Linked DNA regions of Homo sapiens: regions 1, 2, 3, 5 and 6 are each linked to region 4. The links are contacts of gene promoters, found by promoter capture Hi-C in blood cells and fetal thymus (Javierre and others, 2016). All regions are on one chromosome and are shown on one strand. The core of a region is centred on a gene start or on the middle of the fragment in contact, and the rest is flanking DNA. Distances in the headings are between cores, read along the strand shown.

Region 1 (4,079 bases), core at 716-3,215, 260 kb after region 4:
ATTTATTTAAAAAATAACAAGATTGTAACAGACTCAGCATTCCTAAGATGATTTATACTTTTGTTATCTTGTTGTTTAGCTTATGTTCATAAAGAAAGAGCAGTGACAAACAGAGTTGTCATTTGATGGTTTTTGGCATGTTTACGTTATACATATGAAGATACTCTTAACGTTTCATTAGCTGGTAGTTTGTTTTTTAGGTTTAACAATTTAATTACATTCTTTGAAAAGAAATTACATTTTGTGTGTAGTTGCCTAGTTTAGAAATAACCCCATTAGAAAATATTCTTTTTAAAAATCATTCCATGAAAGTAACTAGAAAAAATGCTAGACATCTTTTTGGGCTTCTGTCTCCTGAAACATCTGTGATAGAATGCAAAATAGTGGCACTATTTGAGAAAATAATGAAAACTTTGTAACTTAATCTTACATCTTAGGTTCTATCAGAAAGTGTCATTGGCCTTTTCAAGCTACCTGAGAGAAGCCAAATACTTTTAATTCCTTTTTTACTGAGAGAAATCGCTATTCAAAGAGCTGATATTAAGAAAAACATGAGTATTTTATAAATAATTTCTGGTTTCCTTTCTTCTCCCCAAATAGCCTCTAATGGCAGGAAAATTTAGGACATTGTCCTTTAAGAGACACCCTTCCTTTGCCCTGGCACTAAGAAGCATTACAATTAAAGTCCCGTTAAAGGCAAGCTATAATTGTAGAAGGAACATGTGAGACAGTGTAGATGTTACAATGAAATATTAAATTCCTTCTTAGGCAAAATTGGTGTTATTATAGACTATTGAAGGATGACAGATGATTCAGAAGGGAGTGTGACTTATTCTGTGCTAACAGGTTTAGTTTTTCAATGAAATAGTTCCAACCAAATCCCATAGATGCAGACTGAAGCCATTCCTACTCCTTTATGTCTTCTGATGGATGATGAGGAAAGGCAGTCATTGTGTATATGTAATTTTTTTTTAAAAAGTGTAATTTTGTAAAAACAAATGTCAACTATGGTATTTGAAATACACAGCTTTATTTATTGATGTGTATGTGGTACAACAATATGTGAAAAACATTAGCCTTCATCTAATTATATCAGATGTTGAAAATGTCGTTTTAGACGTACCAGTGCTTTTGTCCATTGCTATACTAGTCATTATCCTCTTAATTTGACTCTAAGCATGAGTCTTATTAGGATGTGAGAAAAGTTTGGGGAATAGGATGCAGGTCAAAACTTGAGCACAAGTGCCTTTTCAAAATGTAGACCAACCATGTGCATCAGAATCAGCTGGGTACTTATTAAAAATATGGTACTTTGATTGATTAGCTCTGACCAATCTGTACCAAACATTCCAGGCAGTGTTGTGCACATGGTGCCAGGTTGCTGTAATTTTTTTTGCACGAATAATATACTCACAGATAATTATTCCTTGGATAAGCTCTGAGAATATTTGTATGCAGATTAGCATTTATTGAATAGCACGGTTGAGTGATGGAGCAGGAAAAGCATCAAATGGCTTGGGAATAAAATTTAATTTAAATAGATTAAATAAAACAGCCCCAAATAGCTTAATATGGCACCTTGTGAGGCTGTGGAAAACCCAGCAAATCTTAGAAGCCAGCTTATCTGAGTGAGAAAGAAATTCAGATATGAAAAGACAGAAGGTGTGCAGTTCACTTCGGATCCCAGGCTCACAGAGGGTCCCCTCCATTCTATCTACATCAGCTCCAAAAGCCTGAGAGTTTCATCTTCATTTCTAGCCTGGGGAAATCACATTGTCTGAGTGAGCGATTTTCCTTTATAGAAATGATCAGAAATAGTAGCTTCCGGGGTGGTAGTTGTTTGAATATGTGCCTGTGCTTGTGAAGGAAAAAGTACTTTAAAGCACTAGGCAAGGATAGGAATGTGAGACTCAGATGATTGGGATTTTTCTGTTTTTAATTCTTCTATAATATTTATTCATGATGACCTATTTGCTTCTTTGTAGTTTTAAACATTCACTGCTAAATCCTTATAGCAATGTATATATTTTTTCTTTGTTTGCTCCCTGGGAGATCAAACTCTGATAAGACTTAAGTCTGTTATAGATAACCTCTCACAAACTTTAATATGCCTTTCTCTAGTAAGCAATATTGTTGGCATTATCTTATAGCTTTCACTGAAAAACTATGTCATGTATCTTTTATGTGCTATGATAGGAATGGATTTTAATGTCTCCTCATATTAGGTTCCTGTTGGTGTTCAAATGAATAAATATGTGATCAATGGAACATATGCTAACGAAACAAAGCTGAAGATAACACAACTTTTGGAGGAAGATGGGGAATCTTACTGGTGCCGTGCACTATTCCAATTAGGCGAGAGTGAAGAACACATTGAGCTTGTGGTGCTGAGCTATTTGGTGCCCCTCAAACCATTTCTTGTAATAGTGGCTGAGGTGATTCTTTTAGTGGCCACCATTCTGCTTTGTGAAAAGTACACACAAAAGAAAAAGAAGCACTCAGGTGGGATTTCTTTTTTTTGTTTTTTGTTTTTTTTAGAAAGTATTATCAGTTAATTATAAGTATCATTTACTTATGATATGGATTATGATTTGATACATTGCAATGACTTTAGGATTTTTGGGGAAAATCTTCATTTTCTTATTTGGAGCAGTATTTAGGTTTACAACAATGGTGACAGTGAGCTGGAAACATATACCCATGGTCTTCCTGTTTCAATTCCTGAAAAAACTTAGTATTAAAAATGCCTTTTTTCTTTCTCTTCCCCCACCACCCCCCTCTTTTTTTTTTTTTTTTTTTTTTTGGTGCTACTGGTACCTAAGTACCAATTAGGTGATATGTATTCTGGCACTGGAATATTAGAAAAATCTATGATAGCTTAATATAAAAAGTCTAAAAGAAACAATTTTTCTTTCACTTAGATTATCATTTAAAAAAATATTTTATTAACCATTCCAGAGTTCTCATTAAAGAGAGACCATCCTGTCATGTCCTATTTTTGCGGCCTGTGCCTGATGGGTTACAGGTTGATAAAGCAGTAATCCTCTAGAAAATTGACCTTACGTCCTGTATTCTTTCCTGATTTTATACTAAATTTTTAATGATTTAAATAATGACAAACTAAGCAGTCATGTTTTTGAAAATACCAGGCCACTAAACTATGTTTGATCAGAAATGCAGATAAGGTCTGTAGTGCAGATAAAGGAGGTGTAGGTGTTTAAGGTAGCATGTCTCTCCTTCATTCCAAACAGGAGAAACAGCATAGTACTTACTTACTTAGGAAGGAGGTTTAATTGAGCATATATGTTCCATAAAAGTGACAAACCAACTTCACAGTCAAATTCTTCTTTTGTTACACAGATGAGGGGAAAGAATTTGAGCAGATTGAACAGCTGTAAGTATTATTTTTTACAGATTAATTTTCACTTGGGTAAAATACAGGGAAACATAAAATTGAATGAAATGTTTGCAGTTAGGGGGAGAAAAGGCAGAGGAGTATTTTCTGTATATGTCCACGTGGTGGTGGAAAGTGGCTTTCCAAGTCTGCCTACCTGCGTGAGAATTCTTCTTCATCACTTACTACCTGCACTTCTCTGTACTTCAGCTTTCTTCTCTACAAAATGGATTTAATAATAGTACTCACCATATGAGGTTGTTGGATGGAATGAATATTATATATGTGTAAATGCATAGCATAGGTTATGGTGCACAGAAGGTGTGCAGTAACCATCAGGAAGTATTTAATATTATTATTTTTAAAGCAATAGTTCTCAAGCCTGGCAATTTTTGATCACTTAAGAGCCTCTTTAAAAAAATACAGTTGCTCAGACCTTGCTGAATCTCCTGGATCAGAACCTCTTGGGTTGGGGCTATGGCATCTGTTATTTCTTGAAAACATCTACAAATGGTTTTGATCCTCTGTCTGTTGAAAATCACTGGCCTAGAATTCTATTAGTTATTATTATTCAGAGAACACAAATTGTGCCACAGGTTCTCTTACACAGCCTTTGTTTAGAGTTAAGCATGAGGAGGTCTGGAAATAAAATCACCAGGGATGTAATTTAGTTTGGCAAAGATGG
Region 2 (3,960 bases), core at 807-3,306, 310 kb after region 4:
GGGAAAGGGTAGAAACCCAGTAAACAAATAATACTTTTAAGTGGTGAATAAGTTAATGGAGGGCAGTTTTAGGGGAGGAGAGAGCACAGCAAAAGTATAAAGATGAGAAATACATGGCAAAATTAAGGAATGTAAAAAACTGTGGTGCAGGTTATTAAAATAGAAGATAGGTGTACAGGGCTAGGAGTAAGATTTGGCTGCTGAAGGCACAAAATTAAATTTAAGACATATCGTGAAGATTTTTGAATAAAATCTAGAGAAGCTTATATTATCTTCTGCAATAATTAAGAGCCTATAGATGAAACACAACTTTTTAAAAAGTACTATATTAGTCTGTTCTCACACTGCTAATAAAGACATACCTGAGACTGGGTAATTTATAAAGAAAAGAGGTTTAGTTGACTCACAGTTCAGCATGACTTGGGAGGCCTGAGGAAACTTACACGCATGGCGGAAGGGGAAGGAAACACGTCCTTCTTCACAGGGCAGCAGCAAGGAGAAGTGCCAAGCAAAAGGGAGAAAAGCCCCTTATAAAACCATCAGATCATGTGAGAAATTGCCAGTATCATGAAAACAGCATGAAGGTAACCACCCCCATGATTCAATCACCTCCCACCTGGTCCCTCCCATGACACCTGGGAATTATGGGAACTACAATTCAAGATGAGATTTGGGTGGGGACACATCCAAACCATATCAAGTAAACTGATGGAATTGGAATAGCCAAAGTAATGGTGGTCATCTCAATTAAAATCTCCCAACATACTCTTCAAAACAATACAATTCAATATGAAAAACAACAGAGAAACCCACAAATCTCAAGTAAAAAACAGGGAACACCACTGCTTCAAATTACCTGTAAGTAGAACTATAAACATCACTTTCGTAGAGTTGTTTGCTGAGCTTCCACTGACCTTTGCAGAGAGTAAGGGGTAGGCATCTTGAAAAACCAAGTGGAAGATAGGAGAAGCAAAAGGAGGGCTTATGACTGAGCTAACATTACCACTAGAAAAAAGAAAGCCCATGTTAAGTGCCAAAATACTGAAAAAGAGCCTTGTATATCAGTATATTGGCTACAGATAAGGGATCTAAAAAGGATACAGTCTTGGAAAGCTATTTCTTCTGGGAAGAATAAGGGAAGAAAGAAGAGAGAGTCAGACTTTGAAAATTGTGCAGTGAAGAGACAAACAGAGCAAGTGGGGACTTAAAGTACTGAAAGACAAAAGAAAAGTCAAAAATCACAGAGCAAAACCTGCCTGGACAACATAGCTAGACTCTGTCTCTACAAGTTTTTTTTTTTTTTTTTTTTAAGTTAGCCAGGTGTGGTGGTGCTTGTAGTCCCAGCTTCTCGGGAGGCTGAGTTAGTAGGACTGCTTGAGCCCAGGGGTCAAGGCTATAGTGAGCTACAATTGTACCACTGCCCTCCAGCCTGTGCTATAGAGCAAGACCCTGTCTCAAATAAATAAATAAAATAACAGAGCACAAAACATAAAACCTGTCCTCTAAGTGCCATCAATTAAAGAAATTGCACTTTCCCACCATGACAAAATGTGGGGTAGGCCTTCTTTAAGAATGCTTTAAATCACCCTAAGTCAAGAGTCCTGTCCATGAAATTCATGGCAAAATAAATTTTGACTTCCAGAAAGACACTATCCGAGAAAACTAAAAACAAGAATCAAACTATCTTAGCTAATGAAAGCTTCTCCCTCCCACCACACACAGCAGAAATGTTACCAGTATTGTGAAATACATTACATATTCTCAAACATTTGCTAATATTAAAAAAACCAATAATCTTAGGTTAGTAATTTTAGAAAGGACAGAAATGTACCCAAACCATCAAGAAATAAAATGGTATTTGATTGATCTTAGGAAAGATATAGAAGATAAAGAGAAAATTTTATAATAATAAGACTAAATTACAAGATGCCGAGAAACAAAAGTAGGAAAACATCAAAGAGAATAAAAATTGAGATAAGAAAGAAGTAAATTGGGCCAGAGAAACAGTGGTTGAAATATGCAAGCAAAGAAGATCCACATAAGCATAATTTGAAGTTATTGAAGAAGAAAAACAAAACACGGAAACAAAACTAGTATTTATATATATAAGACAGGAACAATTTCCAGAAATAAAATGACATTAATCAGCAGAGCTACCCAATTACCTGTGGAGATCGAATCAGAAAAATCAAACCATAGACATATTTTTATAAAACAATTAAACTTTAAAAATAAAATATGACCAAGGCCCCCTGCCTCAGCCTAAATAAACAAGCAAACAAATAAATACATTTCATGAAAATTAGACTATCAGCCTTCTCAAAACAGCATATAAATAAAGACAACAATGAGTAACATTTTCAGGACACCATTTTCAGGACACTCAAGGAAAGAATGTCTGAACAAAGCTTTTTTACCTAGGTAAGCTATCCTTCAAGTGTGAAGGCTATAAATAAAAAATTTAAAACATTCAAGATATTGAGGTTTATTTCTTGAGCATTCTAAGAGAAGATGAGCTTTATCCAATCAAAGGGTAACAGACGAAATTTCAGCAAAAAAACCCTGCTGATATGTATTTAGTATTTTAAATTGATGATCTGAAACTAAAACAAGGGTGGAGATGAGTAATAAAATATAATATAGTAATATACCTTTGGACAGAAGAAATAATACGGCTAAAAAGGGGACAAGGGAGTGGCAAAAAGGCAAGTAGAATAAATTGATTAATTTTTGCGTAGGCAATAGGTATAGTCAAAGTATAGCATCACAAACTGACCAGCCAGTAAAAGGTTAGATAAGAAAATGAGAACAAAGGGGCAATTTAAAAGTGTAAAGATAGCCATTAGGACAGAAAATAAAATGTTATTTCAGTTTTAAAATAAACAAATAAAGAGAACATATTACATAGAGAAATCAAATAGAACAGATATTGTAATTATAACTTAAATAATTGGGCAGGGTAGAGACTAAGCATATCAATCATCTTAATAAATGTGTATGGGCTTAACCTACTTATTGAAAGGAAGAGATTCTCAGTTTAACTCAAAGCAAAATTCAACTGTTTAATGCATATAAGAACAAACCTAAACAAAAGGATTTGGAAAGGTTCAAAACAAAGAGAAGGACAAAGGAATTACAGGCAAATGGAAATAATAAGAAAGTGTAGATTGAAATTCTGATATCAGACAAGTAGAATTCAAGTCAAAAGTTATTATATAGGACAAAGAAAGGCACATTTCATTTCAAAATAAAAAATATAATAATTATGATCACCAATGCACCAAATAACTACCCTTATGAAGCAAGCACTACAGGCAATGTAAGAAGACATTGGTAGAAACATACTGAATATTAGAGACTTTTATACATCTCTCTTAGTTTAAGATGACAAGTAAGTATATAGACCTGAACAACAAAATCAACTAGATACATCTTATAGTTAGATATTGATCTCTATGCCCTGACAAAAGAGAATAGACTAATAACATTTTCTAACAATGCAATAAAACTAGAAACTAGTTACAAGATATAAAAATCAAAAGGGTATTTCCAACAGTAATAAAAATCTTCTATTGATAAACTCTTTTGTTGTTTTAAAATAAAAGTTTTATTGTTATTTAGGTATGGCAAGGCGAAGAGATCAAGAGAGGACTGCCATTGGAAAGACAGTTTGTTATATACACAGATCCCAGGAGGAGGGGCCATGCCTTGCCATGGGGAGGCCACATGGGGAAGCACCAGAATGGTCAGGATGCAGGTGGAGTGGGAAAATGTGGGCAAGAGAGTTTATTGTGGTTTCTGTAGAAAGGGACAGGCAAGACAAGGTAAGCAGGTTTAGGATGGGCTAATTTGAGTAATTCTAGTGGGCCCTGGGACATAGGGACTGCCCCAAGTTGTTTGGTACCTGGCCCTGAGGTGATAAGGGCAGGTGGATACTTGCCTAAAGTGTGAGAGAGCCCA
Region 3 (3,694 bases), core at 51-2,550, 350 kb after region 4:
GGGTGTTTGATGGCAGAAATAACACTTATTTTTTGGAGAAAGAACTAATATTCTCAAAACATGCAAAACACATGTTCTTTCTCTAGAGAAGCTACCTTATGGATTTCACCATAGTCCCATTTTCACAAACTTTTCTTAAACTGCTGAATAAACATAAAATATTTTTGTATAACACATTATCAATGGAGAACATCTGAATTATCTTGAATTCATAAACTAAAAAGGAATGATTTGTGTCACTTTAACTGTCCCTAAAAATATTTTATATAATTCTATATTTTAAAACTCCCCACTGAATACAGTGTGATCTGCCAAACGATGGATAGAAATCTCTTTCCTATGACATGGTCTTTAAGTGGACTCATAATAATTGTTTTGAGACTCAAAGATTAATGGTTTGACATTGCTGTGTGTATTCAAAGAATCTTCTCTTCATTAGTATGTATCTGTAATTTTCTGATTCTGTCCCCTCTCTTGTTTTACTCTACTCAAGAGCCCATTTCTGAAATGTTTAGAGGCTTCCCTCATATGAACAAGTTGTGTAGCTACTTGACTATGTTCATTTCTCCAAGATCTGTTATCTTGAGCCCAATTTTGGCTTTTCTCCTTCTTTGTATTTCCTTTCTGTAATGTAACCATCATGCTTCATATTCTTATCTTCTATTGTGAATTGGATATCAGCTTGTGAAGTATTTGTTAGAAGGAGAAGTAAGCTTTCATTTATATACCCAAATGATTCCTCCATAGGTTACTTTCCAGTAATAATAATACATTTGTATTCCTTTCTCTACTATTTCTTCCATTCTTTTTTTTAATTTTTGTTTTAGATTCTGGGTTACATGTGCAGGTTGGTTATATAGGTAAATTGTATGTCACGGGGGTTTGGTGTATAGATTATTTTATCACCCAGATAATAAATATTGTATCTGATAGGCAGTTTTTTTTATCGTCTTCCTCCTCCCATGATCCATGCTCAAGTAGGCCCTGGTGTCTGTTATTCCTTCTTTGTGTCCACGTGTTCTCAATGTTTAGTTTCCACTTATAAGTGAGACGTGTTATTTAGCTTTCTGATCCTGTGTTAGTTCTCTTAGGATAATGGCTTCCAGCCATGTTGCTGCAAAGGACATAATAATAATATTTCTATGGCTGTGTGTTCATGGGATATATGTACTATATTTTCTTTAACCAGTCTACCATTCATAGGCATTTAGGTTGATTCCATGTCTTTGCTACTTTGAATAGCACAGCCAGAATCTATAAGGAACTTAAACAAATTAAGAGGCCAAAAACAACCCCATTAAAAAGTGGGCAAAGGATATGAACAGACACTTTTTGACAGAAGACATACATCTGGCCGACGAGCATATGAAATAATTCCCAGTGTCACTAATCATTAGAGAAATGCAAATCAAAACTGCAATGAGATACCATCTCACACCAGTCACAATAAGATATCATCTCACACCAGTTTTTACTTTTATTAAAAGGTAAAAAATAACAGATGCTGGAGAGGTTGTGGAGAAAAGAGAACACTTACACGCTGCTGGTGGGAATGTAAATTAGTTTTTCCTTCCATTCTGTTGATTTTTCTCATGTTTACAGTTTGGCCAGATGGAATCAGGGTCACACTCAATAAAACAGGTCCTTTGAGGGCAAAGACTCACCCTATCTAAGCACTGATTTTTCCTTACATTGTGGGTCCAGGCCTGGCCGGTCCTAAGCACTTAATAAATGATTGAATGAATAACTACCTACAACTTCTGGATGAGGAAAAAAAGAAGCTAATTGGTCCACGAGGGAACTAAACTTGTAACCTTAGCTTCATTAGTACAGGACTCTATTCAAATATAATTGTTTGGATCCTATGTATTTCATAAAGAAGCTTTTAGCACCAACAATTTGAATGTCCTATTTCTCAAATATCACATTTTTTTTCTCTTACCACTTGGCAAATCAAAATGTACAAACATTTTAAAATAAAAATTGAGCTTGGACAAGAGGAACTAACCATGCCTGTCAGGATGCTGGCTCAAGTCTCTGCATGAAGTCTGACACAGCAAGTGCTTTTTTGGGCCCTAAAGTTGTTGAAGAGCATGAATTACAACTTAAGCATACAGCCTTCTGGGGAGAAAGCCAGCCACAGATAGTGTCACGCTAGGAAGGGACATTCCTTGTCAGAGAGGGAGGCATCAAAGCTACAAAGAATTTGAGAGTCTTGCCTGTATTGCCTTGTCTGTTCCTCATTCAAACTCCCCTCTTTCACTGAGCATCAACAATGAAAAAAATCCCCAGTTGGAGACCCAGAAGGTTCCCAGTTCCTGAAGTTACCGTGATCTAGAAAAAAATATTCTAAATATAGTGGGTTTTTTTCTAACTATAGTAAAATCACAAGTTTCTCAATAACACCTCCTTTCCAGGAAAGCAACAACGCTGAGAGAATGTGACATTTGGATAACAGTATCTTATTGTTTACCACACCTAGAAAGAATAAACTACTCCATGCATTTAAAAATTTTTGAGTAAGTGTGAAGGGTTCTTCCAGTTTTAACATTTTGCAATTCTAAAAGTAGGATATTCTTTAATGGTTGAAATAATAATAGTCATTGGTCGGGCGTGGTGGCTAATGCTTGTAATCCCAGCACTTTGGGAGGCCAAGGCATGTGGATCATGAGGTCAGGAGATTGAGACCATGCTGGCTAACATGGTGAAACCCCGTCTGTACTAAAAATACAAAAAATTAGCTGGGCATGGTCGCGAGCACCTGTAATCCCAGCTACTTGGGAGGCTGAGGCAGGAGAATCGCTTGAACCTGGGAGGTGGAGGTTGTAGTGAGCTGAAATCGCACCACTGCACTCCAGCCTGGGTGATGGAGTGAGACTCCATCTCAAAAAAAAAAAAAAAAAAAGGGGGGTCAATGTTTAATGAGCATTTTGCACATGCCAGACACTCTAAGAAACATGCCTTATTTCATCTTATTTTCAGAAAACATCTCGTAAGAAGGTTTGCTCTTATGCTTCATTGCCAAGTGGGAAAGTGAAGCATCATGTGATAGTGCTTTGCTCAGGTTTTCAGATAGGGAAGGTAGAACTGGGCTTTGAATTCAGACAGTTTGATTCAAGGGCCCGAGTTGCAGGCACTCTGTACTACAACCCAAGTGTTGAAAACTTGCGTTTGTTTCTACAAGATTTTACCTGAAATAATTTCAGGTTGTGTAGATTCAGTGGAAATTCTAAAGATCGTTTTTCTGGGATAAGAAAACAGATTATAACTTCTTCATGGACTCCACTTGCCCTCCCAAAACTTAAAAACATGAGCGAAAGGAAAAGGGGGAAACAAAGAACCAACTCAATAAATTTACTAATACCATCTCCACAGGGTCAATAGCATACATTAATTTTAAATGGCAGCAAACAAACAAGGAAAAGTAAAACAAAACTGTTGGTGAAGAATAAAACATACATTTCCAAACAGAATAGAAAAGCACAGCCTGGTGTTTTTCCTCACTCTCTCCCCAAGTCCACAAACACTCTTGGGTATGGATATGAATTTCCACTCATGTCCCCAAACCTGGTACAAAATAAAGTGTTGATCCTTCTTCCCCTCTACTTCTGAAGAAGCGTAGTGGAGACCTCTAATAGGAGAAGTGCAAGGAAAAAAAGACTAATAGGCCTTTGGAATTGAAACACTAGTGTTA
Region 4 (3,936 bases), core at 701-3,200:
ACAGAGAATTGGCAGGCTGCATGTTTATGTAAACCTTCAGAAAACATGGAAACACGCAGCCCCAACTCACCAGGAAAATCAACACTTCTGATCAAACTATTTTGTGACATTTTATGTCTTTTATACATTTCACTTCATATCCAGTATTCCAGTTTTGCACCGGCGTGCCTGTATCAACCCCAAATCGCCTGAGAGCAATCTAGTACTGTAGCAGAACAGTTTCAACATGAAGAGTTCTGCTCATTGCCTGTGGCGTGGTCCTCGAAACACCTGAATCAAACATTGATTCCCCTCCTCCTGCTATTTAAAACCGAGGGACGTCAGGCTTGGGTAGCAGGTAAAGAAAAGCCACAATAATCAAACAAACAAGCAACCAAAATACCCGAACACGGAACACGCTAAGAACAAAGGAAACACAAGAGTGTGAACAGGAAATGAAGCAACTCTATACACATAAATACCTTCTGGGGCCGCCAACGTAGGTAAAAGTAAAGGTGGAGTCAGAGTATCTGAAATCTGAAACAGAAAGTCCCGTCAAAAGCTACCCCTGGAGTGGATTTGTTTTAACCCCGATCAGGACTTGAGCCCCACATTCGGTGGTGTCAGGGGAGGCCTGGCCGGGCAGAAGGCAAGGGCTAGAGGGCGGCGAGGTCCCTCTGCGCCGCGTCCGAGGGGATGCGGCGCGCCCCCGACTGGGTGCAGCGGGAGGCCGCCCCCCGCAACAAGTGCCGGGTGCCATGGCAACAGCGGGAATTTCCCGATAGGGGAGGCCGGAAGCAGCCTCAGCCGGGCTCGCGGTAGCGAAAGCAAAATCCCGGGGGAGCAAAATGGACGAAAGGCGACCCCCAGGCAGGGGCGCTGGGTGCCTTGGGAATCCGAGGAATCCCTTCTCTTTGCCAGTCGGAGGGGACTAGAGGGAGCCGAAGGGGCCGGAGATGGGCCGAGCGCTGCCCCCCGGGGGTCCTCGGCGCCGGGCGCAGCTTACAAGCGCAGCGCAGCGCAGCAGGCTCCATTCCCGGCCGCCGCCGCTCAGCCCATTGCGCAAACCAACCCCGCTCTGCCGCCGCTGCTGGAACCCAGGAAGCGTGCTTGGAGGCTTCGGGCACTACGCGGGGCTGGAAATACCACGCACTGCCCCTTCGCCTAGACCCCCGCTCCGGCCACGCGGGCTCTGCCCTCAAAGCTGGTGGCTGCCTCAGACTTGGCGGTGGGGGAGGGGAAGGGGAGAGGCTGGCGCCCCCTCCCCCTTTTGGCTCCCGCGCTCGTTGCAGCAGCTGTTGCCAAATGAACCCCAGAATGGGGACGTGCAACCCTCCACCCCACCCCCAGCCACAGACGTCGCGGTCAGAAAACTGGGAAGGGGGCGCTGGGTCCGAGGTTCTGGAAAAGCAAGAACTCACCTGCAAACAGGCAGTCCTTCTCAGCTCTGGACTTCTGGATCACGACGTCGATATCCTTCTGAATTCGCTCTTGCCTTGAACACATCCCCATTAAATAAATCCCTGGAAAAGAAGCAGCCGCTATTTCCACCCCACCCCACCCCCCTCGCACGCTTCCAGCTTTCGTAAATATTCAGTTAAAAATGAAACCTCTGGCCGAGGCAGGGGCTGAAGGCGAAGTGGTTTCGGAAGTGATCCTGGGTGAGAGAAGAGGAGGAGGAGGAGGGGGAGGAGGAGGAGGAGGGGGAGGTCGGCTTTGCATTCCCAGATGTGACCGCCCAGCTGCTGCTCGCCGCTGCTGGATTCCAATTTCCTCCCCTTCTGACAATGGATGGTGATGACACCAAGTCTCACTTTCTCCCTCACCCGCCCGGACCAACGGCCGTGGGGGCCGAGGTGCCGGGGACAGCCAGAGAGCAATCACCGGCTGGGCGGCGGGCGCCGGCGAGGGGCGAGCCCCGCTCCGGCTCACGCGCGCACACCCCTCACGGCTCGCACGCCGGCCTTCCACACCCGCGCACACTCGCGCCCGCGGGCGGCGGCAGCCGTGCCCAGGCTGCTGCAGCGCCGCCCGCCCGCCGCAGACCCTCCGCGCCCGCCGCCTAGTCACCCCGCCGGCCGCGGGCTGCCGGGGCTCGCAGAGTATTAGCCATCCCGGGCGGGAGCCGCTTCTCCCCACACCGACCTCCACTCGCGCCGGGAGCTGAGCGGTCGTGAAGACTCCCTGGGGCTCCCAGCCTTCCCTCTCCGCGCCCCTCCCCCCATCACTTTTATGAATTCGACTCCACTTTCTAAAGGAATTATAGTCTTGTGGCAAACCCAAACCGGAGTGGCTGGGAGGGGGAAAAGGGGGGAAAAGAAAATCTTTAAAAATTAAAAAAATAATAAAACGAACAAATCTTTCCTTATTGCCACATCACATAACACGGAAAAGGCCTTAAAATTACTCCAGACGTGCACCCTCCCCTTCCCTCAGTGCCTGAGTCTTTTTCCTCCAGATCGAAGTAGTTCAGCCCTTTTGGGGCGCCGTTTACGAAACACAGCCCCTTTTGAGGGACTTCCTCCTCTTGAAACTCACCAGTTCTCCCTTCCTAGGTGTTTCTGTTCATGAGAAATGGTCAGAATCAACTGGCACGTTCCAGGGTCTTCCTAAAAGATGGAAACCTGTTTGGCTTGATTTTTAAAACCACCTCCTTTGACAGTCAAGGGAAAGCTACAATCCAGGTGTTCAGAAATGAGATACTGCTCTGATTCTCACTTTCTGTTCTGCCTAAGGACACCCCAGGCTGACGTAGCTGCCCCACCTCTATATTGGTTTATGCCCTAGGAGAGGTCTCCAGCAGGCACTTTTCTTGTTGATCTTTTCTCCACTGAGAAGGCTCCCGCCAGTAGACCATGACTCCTTTTGCTTTGCATACTCAGTGCCATGTACAGTGCCTGGAATACAGGAGGGTGGCCTAAATGTTGGCTGAATGCACGAATGGTCATTTCTTGCAGCCTCTTTTCATTACCCTGTCTCATCACTTTTCTTATCAGCATAAGTGCCCAAGAGTTGCCAAACTGTTTCAGACCCTTAATCAATTTAGTTCTGATTCTGACCGTGACAACATGATGTTCAGCACGGTAGGAATGACTGCCATCCCTGAAGGAGTCTTAAGATTCTGTAGAATCAATGAAAGATCCTATGTTCTAACTCCTTTATCTTTCAGGAAACAAATTACAAAATAATTTCCTTGTCCAGTCATATTCACTATGAGTTACAAAAGGAAACATTCTGCATTATTGAGATCCACTGCAGCCTTTGATGTAGTAAAGCCACAGTCACAACAGTCTATATCTCCTGCTCAGTCCTCTCCTGAAATGCTTCCTGTTTAGGGTAGGACAGGTTCAAGCCCTTTGTCCTTCCTGGATATGTTGCTTTGTGTAGGCCCTTTGGCTGCCAAAAATGCTCTCTTCTCTTCCACATCACCACTGAGAATCATGAGTATTTCTTCTTCCATTATGTGCTTTAATTTCTCTGAAAGGCTGAAAGTCTATTAACTCACAAGAATTTATTTTATAGTTATCTAGCCACAAGGCTTGCATCTTCCAAGTAGAACCCTTACTACAAATAAATGTGAAATAGTTTTAAAGCTACCAAATATTTTTTTGTCTGGATGAGCTCTTAGTTTACTACTCACTCCTTAAAATAGGCCTTCTTGTGACTTGTCCTATATTTGATTTTTTTTTAAGCTTCATGGGCTGCCCTGTTTTGGTTAAACAAAGCTAACCTCACCCTGTTCATGCCCTTAAGGTGTGATGTATTTAATAAATATTTGTACATTTGAAGGAGTAAGATTAAAAAATAAAAACCTATCTAGTATGTATTTCTGCAAGATAAATTTCTCTAATTAAAAACTATACCAACGTAGATCCTTCCAAGGATCTTCCAGGCTAGATCCTTATGGAGCACTTTGCTCAAAGTAAGTCAGCCCATATCCAGGATCCTTTCTTTACC
Region 5 (3,869 bases), core at 1,370-3,869, 330 kb after region 4:
CCTTCCCACAACATGTGGGAATTATGGAAGCCCCAATTCAAGATGAGATTTGGGTGGAGACACAGCCAAACCATATCAAGCCCTAACGTAAACACTAAGAGAAAGATTCAAGCTGGAAGTAGAAACCTGACGTTAAACTTGTGGCAAGCTTAAATGAAGTCATAAACTGGATCTGTTTCTGCGGGATTCCACGATACAACTTTGTTTAATGTCTACTCCCGGGTGGCAGGAGGTATATAAGAAGAGCCATTACAGGAGTTAGGGTGATAGAAAAAAATATTTCATATAATAAAAGTAAAGAGGGGACAAAAATCTCTAGAACACTTGGGTGTCAATGCCAATTCTTTAGTTTTTGAGCTTTTCACCAGCAATGAAAAGAAGCTCCTGGAGCCTACAGATTTTAGGTCTGTTATCAATCCAGTCAGATGAGACTAGTCCTCTGGCCATTGATCCCAGTGTCCATTGTCTTCTGAGACCTTGTTCTGCACACTGTGTATTGTGGATGAGCACAGGCATTACAGACATGCAGAACCTTGGTTCCTATGTTTGACTTTCTAATTTGGAGTTTGCATCTTAATGAGTCAACCAGATGAATGAAGCCAGAGCCTAAGTTTGTTATTTATTATCCTTACATCCAAGAGTGATAGTGTCATCCCAAACAATTATCTTTTACTATATGATTGTTTCCACAGTGTTCTCTTTCCCCTTCTTCCTGAATTAGACACCTTTCTACAATAATTCTCCCATTTTGAGAAGTGGGACTACCTCTAGTTTTTTATTTCTTTCCTGTTTATTAAAGTTATAATTGGCAAATAAAATTTGTATATATTTAAGGCATACCCCATGATAATTTGATATACATATACATTGTGAAATGATTACCACAATTAAGCTAAAAAACATATCCATCACCTTATGGTTACCTTTTTTTTTTCTGGTGAGAAGATTTAACATCTACTATCTTAGCAAATTTCAAGTATATAATACAGTAGTGTGAACTATAATCCCTCTGCTATATATTAGATCCCCACAATTTGTTTATCCTGCATAACTGAAATTGTACTCTGTGCCCACCATCTCCTCTTTCCCTATCACCATCCCCCAGCCCCTGGAAACTACCATTCTACTCTCTCCTTCTATGAGTTTGACTTTTTAAGATTCCACATACGTGAGATCATCAGTATTTTTCTTTCCATGTCTGGCTTATTTCACTTAGTATAACATTATCCAGGTTCATCTATGTTGCCCCAAATGACAGATGACAGGATTTCCTTTTTTTAATAAGGCCGAGTAATATTCATATATGTGTGTGTGTGTGTGTGTTCATTGTGAACAATGCTGCAATGAAGATAGGAGTGCAGATATCTCTCCAACATACTGATTTCCTTTCATTTGGATATATACCCAGAAGTGAGATTGCTGGATTACATGGTAGTTCTATTTTTAATTCTTTGAGGAATCTTCATACTATTTTCCATAATTACTGTAGCAATTTACATTCCCACCAACAGTGTACAAGGATTCCTTTTTCCCACACATTCCCCAACACCTGCTTTCTTTTATCTTTTTAATAATAGCCATTCCAACAGGTGTGAAGTGATATTTCATTGATTTTAATTTGCATTTCTTAGATTATTAGTGATGTTGAGCACTTTTTAATATACCTCTCGGCCATTTTTTTGTCTTATTTGGTGAATGTCTATTTACAGCCTTTATCCATTTTTAAATTGGGTTATTTGTATTCTTGCTATCGATTTGTTTGAATTGATTATATACTTTGAATATTATCCCCTTATCAGATGTATCATTTGTAAATATTTTCTCCTGTTTTGTAGGTTTTCTTTTCACTTAATTGTTTCCTTTACTGTGCAGAAACTTTTTAGATTGATGCAATTTCATTTGTCTATTTTTGCTTTTATTGCCTGTGTTTGTGGGGTTACATTTTAAAAATAATTTCCCAAACCAATGTCAAAAAGCTTTTTCCTTATTTTTTCCTCTAGTAGTTTTACAGTTATTTAAGTCTTTATTTTGAGTTAGTTTTCTATAGGTATGAGGTAAAGGTCCAGTTTTATTATTTTGCATGTAGATACACAGTTTTCCCAACACCATTTATTGAAGAGACTGTTTTTCCCCCATTGTATGCTCTTGACAGATCCGTGGAAGATCAATTGACAATAAATAAGTGGATTTATTTCTGGGCTCTCTATTCTTTTCCACTGGTCTGTGTGTCTGATTTTATCCAGTCCCATGCTGTTTTGATTCCTGCAGGTTTGTAGTATATTTTGAAATCAGGTGATGCAATGTCTCCAGCTTTCTTTTCCTTGTTTAAGATTGATTTGGCTAAGGTCTTTTCTGGATTCATATGAATTTTAGGATTGTTTTTTCTCTATCCATGAAAAATGTCACTGAAATTTTAATAGAGATTGTATTGAATCTATAGAACAGTTGGGTAGTGTAGACATTTTAATATTAATTACTCTAATCCATGAATACAAGATATCTTTGGATTTGTGTCTTCTTCAATTTCTTTAATTTATATTTTAATATCATTTTCAGTGTACAGATCTTTCATCACCATGGTTGAATTTAATTGCTTTTTAATTTTTTCATGCAATTGTGAATTAGATTGTTTTAGTAATTCTTTTTTTGAATACTTTGTTGCTAATGTATAGAGATGCAATTGATTATTTCTAACAGTTTTTTAGTAGAGTTCTTAGGGTTTTCATAACCATTGTTATTGGTCTGTTCAGATTTCCTATTTCTTCACGATTCATTCTCAATAGGTTATATGTGTCTAGGAGTTTCTCACTTCTTATAGGTTATTCAATTTTTGGCAAATAATTGTTCATAGTAGTCTTTTATGATCCTTTCTATTTCTTTAGTATCATTTGTGATGTCTCTTCTTTCATTGAAAATTTTATTTTAATCTTCTGTCTTTTCTTTTTAGTTAGTCTAGCTAAAGGTTTATCAATTTTGTTTGCCTTTCAAAAATAAATACTTGGTTTTATTGATTTTTTCTATTATTTTTCTATTCTCTACTTCATTTATTTCTGCTTTGATCTTTATTATTTCCTTTCTTCTACCAACTTTGGTCTTAGTGTGTTTTTTTATGTTTCCTTGAAGTGTAAATTTAGGTCATCTATTTTAGATTTTTTTCTTAATGTAGGCATTTATTGATATAAACTTCCTCATTAGACCTATTTTTGCTGTATCCCATAAGTTTTGGTATGTTGTGTTTCCATTCTTGTTTATGTCAAGCTTTTTTTAAAAATGTTTCCTTTTGATTTCTTCTTTGATCCATTGGTTGTTCAGAAGCCTTTGCCACTTAATCTGAAATAAAAACCATACTCTTTCCTCCACAACAATCACTCATTCCTATATAGTATGTTGCAGTTATATCAAATGGTAAATTTTATTTATTTATATTTATTTACTTTTGCTTCAGTCCCTTTGGAATTGTTGAAGAAGCAAAATATAGTGTATAGCTTGATAATAGTGGTGGGGTATGTCCATAGCAGCCCTGTGTCCCCTGACACATTGCATTGATGAATACATTCTTGTATCACCATCCTCTTTCCTTTTCTCTTTCTCTCATTTTTCATAATTCTTATTTGAAGAGGATGAAGAAAAGGGAGACAATGAAGAATCCATGGAGGAAAGGAGAAAAGAAGACAGAGAAAATATAGTGCTATGGTTTGAATGACCTCCAGAAGTCATGGGACGAAACTTAATTGCAAATGTGATTGTGTTACAACGTGGAGTCTTTAGGAGGTGATTAGGTCAGGAGTGTGCAGCCCTCCAGGATGGGATTAAAGTCCTTATAAAAGAACTTGAAGAAATTGGGTTGCGACCTTTGTCCCTTCCCCCAA
Region 6 (3,822 bases), core at 685-3,184, 280 kb after region 4:
CTCACTGCAACCTCCGCCCCCCTGGTTCAAGCAATTCTGCTACCTCAGCCTCCCTAGTAGCGGGGATTACAGGGGCCTGCCACCATGCCTGACTAATTTTTGTATTTTTAGTACAGATGGAGTTCACCATGTTGGCCAGGCTGGTCTCGAACTCCTGCTCTCAGGTGATCCACCTGCCTCGGCTTCCCAAAGTACTGAGATTACAGGCATAAGCCACTGCGCCCAGCCGTGGCACTTTCTTAAAGGACTAAACATATATGGCCAATAAATCTCATTCCTGGGCATTTATCTCAGAGGAATGAAAACTTATGTCCACACAAAGAATTGTACATGATTGTTCATAACGGCTTTAGTTATAAAAGCTTAAAGCTGTAAGTAAACAAAATATCTTAAAGTAGGAGGATATTTAAACAAACTGTGGTACATCCATATCTTGGAATATTGCTCTGTAATAAAGAAGAATGAATTGTTGATACATGCAACAATTTGGATGGATTTGAAGGACATTATGCTAAGTGAAAAGCCCATGTCAAAAGATGTGAGTCCATTATATGATGTCCTTGAAAGGACAAAATTACTGAGATGGAAAACAAATTAGTGGTTACCATGGGTTAGGAATGCTGCGGGGGCAGAGAAGTGGGAGTAGATGTGACTATAAAGAGGTAATAATAGGGAGTTCTTTGTGGGAATGGTTTAGTTTTGTATCTTGGTGGTTGTGTGAATCTACATATGTGATAAAAGACATAGAACTAATACATATACATTATAACAAATGTCAATTTCCTTCTTTTGATATTGTACTATAATTACTTAAGATATAAGCATGGGGAGAAACTGAATTAGGTGAAAATGAGAGCTCTCTGTAATATCTTTGCAACTTTCTATGAATCTGTAATTTTTTCAAAACAAAATATTTTAAAATGTTTGAATCAATTCATTAGTCTAAGCATTAAATGGTTAATATTAGAAAAGAATATGGATTTTTTTTACTTCTTTATTATTGGTTTAGGTAGAAAATCAACCTAAACTATCAACTGAAACTATTGGCATAAAAGCAAAGTACAGAGTCAGTTACAAGCCCATGTTCTCAGATGTCTTACCAGATAGTCCTTGCAAGAAAAAAAAAAAAAAGTCTTTCTTATATCTATTTAAATGACAATGCAGGTTTTAAAATGTCCTTTCATCATTGAATGATTGACAATATTTATGTATAAACTTGATAAAGATCATTTGAGAATAATCTTTGTTTTGTGTTACTGTAGCTACATAAGAGAAAGAAATTGTATATATTAAATCTCTCATTGTATCTAGCCATAGCTAAAATAACTGCTTTATAGTGGGAAAAAAAAAGATTATTTTATTTTGGAAATAAGTACATTTTCAAGTTTGAATCAAAACCTTTCACACTTACTAAAATATATCTGTACACACAAAACCCCAGAGTAAATATTCACATTCATGTCACCTCCCTATAATAACTACATTTACTCATATTTATTTCTGTGAATAGGGGTTCTGGAACCATTATAGTAGCTAAAATGTGGTGCAGGAGATAAGAGTGTTTAATCAAGGTTCACAATGATTTGCAATGGCAGGAGACAGTTTGTGGCTAGAGATAACATTCAGCAGCACGTGTTTATGAGTGAGATGGACACCTGTCTGATAGTACCATGAGCCAGCCTGTGTGCTTTGCTGATGCAGGTAGTGCTGAAAGCATTAAAATTGTGCAGTGAAAAAATGTTATGCTTCTAAAACTTTTGAGATTCTGAAAACAATTATCAAATGATACTCTAATTCTGCTTTACGTTCTGAAGTCTCCTGAATTGGGGTAAACAAAAACCTTTAGCCTAAATATAAAATATGGTAATTTAAAACATAAACATAAGTATGTTTATCTAAAGAGAAACCAAAGTTTCTTTTTAATTTTTAGTTTTTTTTTATTGTGGTAGAAACACTGAACTTGAGATTTACTTTCTTAACAAATTTTTAAGTGCACAATACAGTATTGTCAAGTATAGGCACGCTGTTGTACACCAGATCTCTCTTTTTTTTTTTTTTTTTTTTTTTTTTTTTTTTTTTTTGAGACAGGGTCTTGCTCTGTTGCCCAGGCTGGAGTGCAGTGGAGTGAACACTACTCACTGCAGGCTCAATCTCCCCAGCTCAAGCAATCCTCCCACTTCAGCCTCTTGAGTAGTTTGGACCACAGTTGCATGCCACCACATCTGGCTAATTTTTACAATATTTTGTAGAGACAGATTCTCACCTTATTTGTCTTTATATCTTATTTGTCTTGCATAAGTGAAACTTTGGTCAACAACTTCCCATTTACCCTTCCCCCAGCTCCTAGTGACCACCATTTTACTTCTATGAGATTGACTTAACGTTAGATAGCTCAGATAAGTGGCATCATACAGCATTTGTTCTGGCTATCTCACTTAGCACAATATCCTTCAGGTTTATCCATGTTCTTACATATGGTAGAATTTTTTTAAGAGCTAAATAATATTTCACTGTATGTATATATCACATTTTCTTTATCCATTCATCTACTGAGGGACATTTAGATTGTTTTGAAATCTTGGGTGTTGCTAATAATGCTGCAGTGAACGTAAGAATGCAGAAATTCCTTTGAGTTCCTGATTTCAATTCTATTGGATATATACCCAGAAGTGGGGTTGCTGGATCATATAGTTATTCTATTTTTACTTTTGTGAGGAACCTCCATATTGCTTTCCATAGTGGCTGCATCAACTATTCCCATCAACAGTGTATAAGAGTGCCAAGTTTTCCACATCCTCAACAGCACTTGTTTTTTAAGAGTCATCCTAAAGGTGTGAGGTGATTGACATTTCCCTGATGACTAATGATGTTGAATTTTTTTTTTTTTTTTTTTTTTTTTTTTGAGACAGGGTCTCACTGTGCCACCCAGCTGGAGTATAGTGGTGCAAACACAGCTTGCTGCAACCTCAATCTCCTGGACTCGAGTGATCCTCCTGCCTCAGCTTCCTGAGTAACTGGGACTACAGGCGTGTACCACCATGCTTGGCTAATTGTTAAATGTTTTGTAGAGATAGGGTCTCACTATGTTGCCCAGACTGGTCTCGAACTCCTGGGCTCAAGTGATCCTCTCACCTCAGATTTCCAAAGTGTTGGATTATAGGTGTAAGCCACTGAGCCCAGTTTGAATGCTTTTTTATATATTTTTTGGCCATTTGTATGTCATCTTTGGAGAAATGTCTATTCAAATCCTTTGCTCATTAAAATTATTTTCTGATAATGAGTTGTAGAAGTTCCTTATATATTTGGAGATTAATCCATTACTGGATATGTGGTTTGCAAATATTTTAACCCATTCTATAGGCTGCCTTTTCACTCTGTTGATTGGTTCTTTTGCTATACAGAAGCTATTTAGTCTAAAGGAGTTTCACTTGTTCATTTTTGTTGTTATTACCTGGGCTTTTGTCTTATACAGGAAATCATTGTCAAGACCAACATCCAGAAGCTTTCCCCCTATGTGTACTAAGAGTTTTACAGTTTGGGGTCTTACATTTAAGCCTTTATTTTGAGGTGATTTTTATATATGGTGTGAGATGAGAGTCCAATTTATTCTTCCGCATGTGAGTATCTGGTTTTCCTAACACTATTTGTGGAAGAGACTGTTTTACCCCATTGTGTATTCTTGGCACCCTTTTTGAAGATCGGTTGGTTGTATATGCATGATTTTATTTCTGGGCTCTCTATTCTGTTCCATTGATCTATATTTCTGTTTTAACTTCAGTAAAGAAATATAATTAATTCAGCTGGAATTTTGATGGGGATTGC

Evidence for each region. Contacts are between HindIII fragments. The CHiCAGO score rates a contact against its expected background, and 5 or more counts as called.
Region 1: a fragment that was not itself captured here is called in contact with the fragment with the promoter of PARP8 in region 4 in 1 of 17 cell types (total CD4 T cells); the score reaches 6.6 in total CD4 T cells.
Region 2: a fragment that was not itself captured here is called in contact with the fragment with the promoter of PARP8 in region 4 in 10 of 17 cell types (non-activated CD4 T cells, naive CD4 T cells, activated CD4 T cells and 7 more); the score reaches 10.9 in non-activated CD4 T cells.
Region 3: a fragment that was not itself captured here is called in contact with the fragment with the promoter of PARP8 in region 4 in 5 of 17 cell types (activated CD4 T cells, non-activated CD4 T cells, naive CD4 T cells and 2 more); the score reaches 7.8 in activated CD4 T cells.
Region 5: a fragment that was not itself captured here is called in contact with the fragment with the promoter of PARP8 in region 4 in 6 of 17 cell types (naive CD4 T cells, naive CD8 T cells, total B cells and 3 more); the score reaches 6.2 in naive CD4 T cells.
Region 6: a fragment that was not itself captured here is called in contact with the fragment with the promoter of PARP8 in region 4 in 1 of 17 cell types (non-activated CD4 T cells); the score reaches 6.3 in non-activated CD4 T cells.

The regions. Positions count from the first base shown.
Region 1 is chr5:50,401,601-50,405,679 of GRCh38, reverse strand. It overlaps EMB (embigin), which reads left to right. Exons shown (of 9, transcript NM_198449.3): 6 at 2,226-2,502; 7 at 3,361-3,394. Among named protein-coding and RNA genes, the nearest start is that of EMB, 38 kb to the left of the region's middle. The HindIII fragment of the contact is 9,112 bases long and covers 1-4,079 here.
Region 2 is chr5:50,354,812-50,358,771 of GRCh38, reverse strand. No RefSeq gene overlaps it. Among named protein-coding and RNA genes, the nearest start is that of EMB, 84 kb to the left of the region's middle. The HindIII fragment of the contact is 709 bases long and covers 1,702-2,410 here.
Region 3 is chr5:50,314,873-50,318,566 of GRCh38, reverse strand. No RefSeq gene overlaps it. Among named protein-coding and RNA genes, the nearest start is that of EMB, 120 kb to the left of the region's middle. The HindIII fragment of the contact is 1,169 bases long and covers 716-1,884 here.
Region 4 is chr5:50,664,651-50,668,586 of GRCh38, reverse strand. PARP8 (poly(ADP-ribose) polymerase family member 8) reads right to left here and starts at 1,950. Exons shown (of 26, transcript NM_024615.4): 1 at 1,401-1,950; 2 at 462-516. The coding sequence starts at 1,491. RefSeq lists silencers at 826-1,155, 1,848-1,907, 1,958-2,107 and enhancers at 128-1,327, 763-1,675. The HindIII fragment of the contact is 4,109 bases long and covers 1-3,673 here.
Region 5 is chr5:50,338,306-50,342,174 of GRCh38, reverse strand. No RefSeq gene overlaps it. Among named protein-coding and RNA genes, the nearest start is that of EMB, 100 kb to the left of the region's middle. The HindIII fragment of the contact is 1,282 bases long and covers 1,979-3,260 here.
Region 6 is chr5:50,382,366-50,386,187 of GRCh38, reverse strand. No RefSeq gene overlaps it. Among named protein-coding and RNA genes, the nearest start is that of EMB, 57 kb to the left of the region's middle. The HindIII fragment of the contact is 3,140 bases long and covers 365-3,504 here.